Linked DNA regions of Homo sapiens: region 2 is linked to region 1. Evidence: promoter capture Hi-C in 16 types of primary human blood cells and fetal thymus (Javierre and others, 2016). All regions are on one chromosome and are shown on one strand. Each heading gives the region's core, a stretch centred on a gene start or on the middle of the fragment in contact. The rest is flanking DNA. Distances are from core to core; before and after follow the strand shown. Region 1 holds the start of CAMK1G (calcium/calmodulin dependent protein kinase IG). Region 2 overlaps UTP25 (UTP25 small subunit processome component).

Region 1 (3,291 bases), core at 425-2,924:
CCTTCATCCTTATGATGCTGTAATGCAATCCTAACGTCTGACTGATTACCCTGGGAACACATGGCTCGGACAATCTTGAAAGGGCTGAATCCCTAAAGCACTCAGATTTCTCAGCATGGAGGCTGGGGACAGCATGTCTATTGCCCCAAGCCTCTCATGGTTCCAGCTCAAACCATTTCTCACTCTAACCTCAAGCTTCTTTCCCAAAGAGTACTTTCTGAAGAGTGCTCTTAATAAGCATCCACACACACACACACACCAGAGCAATCTGCAGCATCGTGGAAAGTTCACTGAATTTATCAATAGATCTGGGTTCAGTTGCCACCACCATCACCAGCTTTGCAACCCCAGGCAAACCCTTTAACTTCTAAGCTTCAATGGTCTCATCTATACTAAAGGGGAAATAATACATGCCACACCATCTGATGGGATCGTCCTAAAGATGATTAATTATAAACACATTATAAACTGTAAAGTGTGGTCCCCATATCAGGTATTACTAAGCACTCTGTGTTACGGCCTGTTTCAGAGGTGGGTCTCATCTTTGGTTCTGGTTAAGCTTGGGTCAGCAGGAATGACAGGGACCTTGTTCTGTCTTCAGCTTATGATCTGGAAAAGATCATCTTCTTACCTAAGGCGGAATCTGCTTGACTCTCTTGACCCTTCTCAGAGGCTTTCCTCATGATCAATTTATCTGACTCCAGAGCAAGAGGCTGGCCAGACAAGCACTGCAGCCAGACCAGCGTGAGCCCTGGCAGCCATCTCCGGGAGCCTCAGGGTTAATGTTTGTGCGTCAAAGTTACGTGGAGAGAAGGGGCCATGGTGTGGATGGGGGTGGTGGTGGTGGTGAATCCAGACCTCCTTTTAAGATCTTCACTTGAGAGGTAAACTAGGGAAGTTTAAAAACAGAAGGGAGGTAGACGCGCCCCTGGGGAAGGTGAAGGAAGCTGTCTTGTGACTGACAGCGATAGCTCGGCTGCGTTCTGCATCTTAACGCGGCTGAGGATAGGGAGCCTGAAGCCTGTCCACAGACTCCTCCAGGAGGGACTGAGGCTGACTCGTCTTCCTTAGGCTTGCAGAGCCACAGGCTGTTTACAAATCTTTTTGCCATTGGTTCTGCTAATCCTCCCAATAACCCAAAGAGGTCGGCAGAGAGGGCATACTTTATTTGATGGATGGGGTCAGAGAGGTTAAGAGATGAAGGTTGAGCAGGAGGGAGGGGTGCAAGAGAGTTGGAGGTCCTAACACCCCAGCAGATGGACGGGGTCCCTCTAGGCACAGAGCCTTGTCCCTAGAATGCAGGCATTGCAGGAGGGGCACATGAAGATATTTTTCTCCCTTTTCCCTGCCCAGAAGGGCAAAATGCTTCCATGAAAGCCAGCCCAGGAGTGACGGACAGATAGCTCCACCCGGACCCCCCATTCAGACTTATTTTCCAAGACAGCTATAACTCACCCTTGATGCCAAAAGAGTCAGGGAAGACTGGAACTGGGGCTGAAATAAATGCCCAAGTTGCTTACAAAGTGGCTCTTCAAATCCACTCACTAGGTGCTGCACGCTTCCCATTAAGCAAGGAGACCCTCTAAAGCCAAGAAAAGAAGCAGGGTTGTCTTACCCAGGGACTCGGGAAGAATCCTGCTTGAGCTCCCACTCCAGCTCCTACAGGTCTGTGAGGATTAGCTGCTCCAGTGCTTTAACAATAAACCCAATTAAAGGGGAGGAATGCAGGAGTTTTCTTTCCCAGGACCGTAACCACGCAGCCTTAAAGGGGAGTAAAAGTAGCTAGGGTGGCTTGCATCTCTCTTTCCTTTCCTCGGCTCTGCTCACCCTCCCTCCCAGCGTGCAGTAATGAGTCTTATCCAGAAAAATGCTTGTGCATTTTTGCCTGGTGTGTGTGTGTGTGAGTCTGTGTGCATGTGTATGTGAAATTGTGTTTGCATTGATGTGTGTGATGGAAAGACAGAACGGAAGAATGAAAAACAAAAACATCAAATTATAAGTTCCCATTATCCTGAATGGGTGATGACAGAAAAAAATCAGAGAAGCTTTCTAGGATTGTCTGCCTCAGTTTCCTTTTTAACCCCTCAGGTGCTGGTGTATGTTGTCTAAAAACACCTCCCTGAAAAACAGAACATCTACACTGGCTGACATGTAGGGACTGAAGACAGTGTCCACCTTGCTTGTTATCTCTTACAGAACTGGGAGAAAGGGCCTTGGATGTCCCAAAAGGGGCCCCTCAGTTGGACGGTCTCACTCAGTATCTTTGATATGTCTCTTTTCCTCCAGAAGCTCAGCATTCTGGTCCCCAAACCTGTCTCAGTCCTAACCTATGAGACCCCAGGAAATCATTCCCCTCCTCCGGAAACTCTGTGCTCCCTCTGTTTCCTGTACTCATCTCTCCAACCTGGCCCTTGACCAAGGCTTCACAGTCTCCATCTTAGCTTCTCTGGGGCAGTCCCTTTAGTGCAGATTTCTTTAAACTCTGTCATCTGCTCTCTTGTTTTCTCCTTCTCTACTCTCTCCTTAAGGTTACCATCTACTCACAGAGTCTATTACCATCTTCATAAGAATCTCCTCAGTCAACACCCCACCTGGGTTATCATGCTCAACCTCAACATCCAAATGCCCACTGTCACCTACAAACAAGGCTGAATGTGTTATGGCCACCCTCAAACCCACTCTCCTGTTTTCCCCAACTAGGCTAATGAGCTACCATCTTCCAAACACTCAACTGAGAAACTCCAGGGTTTGCTTTGTTTGTGTTGCCTGTTTAATTTGTCTTCCAAACCCATCCAGCTCTTATGCACTTCCATTTGTTCCTTGAAATTAGCTTTTAACTTGTACCATTTCTTTTGTGTCATCTTGTTTTTTGAATAAATAACATATTCATATTGGCAAGAAAATGACCATATTAAAAGGCATACATTGAGATGTGTTACCCCCTTCTACTCGTTATCTGTCCCTTGACCCTGACATTGCCCTCTATAGGTGACCACTTTTATTATGGTATTTCTTTATGCAAATACAAGCAAATATTCACCTCTATGATCTCAGTTCAGGCCTTCAACCTCCCACCCAGGTAGAACTGTGATAGGATAGGGTGAGATGGTGCAGTAGGATAGTTAAAAGTGGCTCTGGGGAAGACTTCTAGGTTGGATTCCTGGGTCTTCCATTGACAGATATGTGGCCTTGGGAAAGTGGCTTAACCTTTCTATGCCTCAGTTTTTCCATCTGTAAAATGGCATAATTATTAAACTTATTTCACACACTAGTAGGGTGGAGCGAGACAGA
Region 2 (2,816 bases), core at 99-2,598, 260 kb before region 1:
GGGAAGTTTTCCAATCCATCCACTTCACTTAAAGGGCTTGCTTTCATTTGTCAAGATGATAGAAAGCTAAGAGCTTTTAAGACCTGATGAGTGCAACTTCCCCAAATACTTTCCAACATGAATGGAAACGACAACTTACTGGAACAGAGCAAATAATGAGGGCAACAAGCAGGCATTCATTAACACTCTTTGGCCAAGCAGCCTTCTCTGGGTAGCCAAGAATGGAGCCTGGGAAACACAAATTTAATCAATCCTCAACTCTCTAAGAGGTCATGCCATGCCAGCTTTGCTATGCCTAGGCAAGCTGCTGGGACGCCTCCCTCCCCATCCTGGGAACAAGGACGTTATCTGGGGAGCACCATCCTAATCGTTTTAGCATAAACTAAAAGGTAATGCAATGCCAAAGTGCATCATCTAATGTGCTCCAAAGCTTGGGAGATTTCTGGCGTATCTGTTTAGGATTCTCTGAGAAAATGCACCCATTGTGAGTTAATAAAACAGTAAAGTCAGAACTTAAATCCACTGGACATTATTGTGAAATCAGGATGAGGTAACAGAATGTAATTTACATAACTCTACAGGCAAGGGTTAAAAAAAGCCTTTTACATATTATGCAACCATGAAAATTGAAAATAAAAATCTAAAAAATAAAAAAGCTTTTTCTATTTATCAACAGAGAGAGACTTAGCAAAACAATAAAATACATGAGCTCTAGGGCCAGAAGGGCCGCCACTATCCCAAACAGTAATAGAAGGCTCAGTATTACTAACCCTCTAATTAGAGTTGGTTTTTTTTTTTTTTTTTTTTTTTGAGATGGAGTTTCGCTCTTGTTGCCCAAGCTGGAGTGCAATGGCACGATCTCAGCTAACTGCAACCTCTGCCTCCCGGGTTCAAGCTATTCTCCTGCCTCAGCCTCCCGAGTAGCTGGGATTATAGGCACACACCACCACGCTCAACTAATTTTTTATATTTTTAGTAGAAACGGGGTTTCACCATGTTAGCCGGGATGGTCTTGAACTCCTGACCACAGGTGATTCGCCTGCCTTGGCCTCCCAAAGTGCTGGGATTACAGGTGTGAGCCACTGCACCTGGCCTGAGTTTTTAAAAAAATAACATGAAGACCAATCAACTTATTTTGTCAAAGTCACCTGGTAGGAAATCTAAGCAAACGCTGAAACCCTTCAACATTCAACTTGAAGCCCTTACCCTTTTACCTCCTGCAAATGTCAAGGAGCCCACGGTCCTAGTTCTCCTTGGTAGGGAGTATCTGTGCATACCTCAGGAACACCGCAACTGTCTGGAAACTGACACTGTACTCAGCCTCCATCTCCCCAGAAAACACAGTTCTCAATGCTTTTGTCTGTGCACTGAGGGCAAACAGAGGGAAAAAGTCTAGACAGGGACAACTCAAGTGAATACAGGGAAGGTCCCTCCCCTTCCTTGTATTCATTTGAGTTGTCCTGTAATGTCCTTCTTGCAGTGTATAACCACAGCTACATGCCAGGTCTATAGACAGGGTATGCTTTGGTTTCTACATCCTTCTTCAGCAATGCCCATTTTGGGAGAAAACCAACTAACCAACCAAGAAGAGTCTGTCCAAACCAAAAACTCTCTGGCTACTTTGTAAGAGTGCGAGAGTGAGGGATGATCTCAACACCACGAAGCCTGCCATGCATTCAGAGCAGGCCATGATTTGTCCTGCACCTCCCCTTCAGAGAGGAGGCTTGAAACCTGGCACCACTTTACCTTTTGTAGAAATGGAAGCGCTCTGTGAAAAGTAGAAACTGTTTCTCTCCTTGAAGGAAGAAGTGTCTGGCCCTGGAGACACCAGACTTCTGCGTGTACTCGCAGATGTGGGTAAAATTCAATTCCTCCTTCTTGAAGTAATTTCGAAGACGCACGAAGTCAAAGTAGGAGGGGATATAGATGAGCGTGTGAGACATGACTGCATCACGATACTGTGGCAAAATCTTGTTCACAAAAAAGTTAAACCTGATTTGGAATGGCAAAGGGCAAAATTAATGTCTAGAGCTAAGCTTATGGTGTCTCTTAACTGTGTGACCCTGAGCAAATTACAATCTCGTGTTAAAAGATTACCTCCCCAGAGGCCAATATGATTTACCTCCTCTCAAAGAGATTATGTAAGGATAAAACTTGATAAGCACACTAAAAAAATAAGTGTCAACACTATTCATTGTAAAAAACAGATGTAATACCATTATATCCCAGAGAATTACTCTAGGAAGTACACACCACACTATTCAGTCAGTCAGTCAGTCACTCAGTCACTCAGTCCAACAGTCAACAAATAATCACTGAACATCTACCATATACTAAGCCTCACTAAGCTTCTTTGGGGTCCCCTAACTAAACACAATGAAGAAAAAGGGGGAAATTATACAATTAGAAAAATAGTTCTTTCCCTGAGGGGCTTACAATTAACTTGCTGACATGAGACACTTTGTAGCATAAAGCTGTATAATTTTAAAATGCCACAGTCAAGAGTGAAAGAGTCCTGATTTATAGTAATAACCCTGCTACTAACTAGTTATGAGACCTAGGCCAAAGTCACTATTTCTCTCTGTGCTTCAGTTTCCTCCTCTGACAAATGACATAATTAAGTTCAATTATCTCAACTGATTTGGTAGTTATCAATAAAAGCAAAATGGAATCCAATTCTAGGTTTGTATGCCCAAGTCAAATCTCTCTATGTGGTCCCCAGGGGCCTGCTGGGAGGAGTGGGTTACCTGGCATCAATCACTGAAGCTAGGTTTTCAGCTTCCATCCTCTGGAAGACATGTGGGAGCTGCACCAGG

The links. The method cuts DNA at HindIII sites, captures the fragments that hold promoters and counts their contacts. A CHiCAGO score of 5 or more calls a contact.
Region 2: a contact is called between a fragment that was not itself captured here and the fragment with the promoter of CAMK1G in region 1, in 1 of 17 cell types (neutrophils). The highest score is 6.2, in neutrophils.

The regions. Positions count from the first base shown.
Region 1 is chr1:209,582,097-209,585,387 of GRCh38, reverse strand. It overlaps CAMK1G (calcium/calmodulin dependent protein kinase IG), which reads right to left and starts at 1,674. Exons shown (of 13, transcript NM_020439.3): 1 at 1,616-1,674. All of the region lies in intron 1 of LOC107985256 (a long non-coding RNA gene), which reads left to right. The HindIII fragment of the contact is 1,486 bases long and covers 562-2,047 here.
Region 2 is chr1:209,842,627-209,845,442 of GRCh38, reverse strand. UTP25 (UTP25 small subunit processome component) reads right to left here. Exons shown (of 12, transcript NM_014388.7): 10 at 2,748-2,816; 11 at 1,747-1,992. Among named protein-coding and RNA genes, the nearest start is that of UTP25, 16 kb to the right of the region's middle. The HindIII fragment of the contact is 1,380 bases long and covers 659-2,038 here.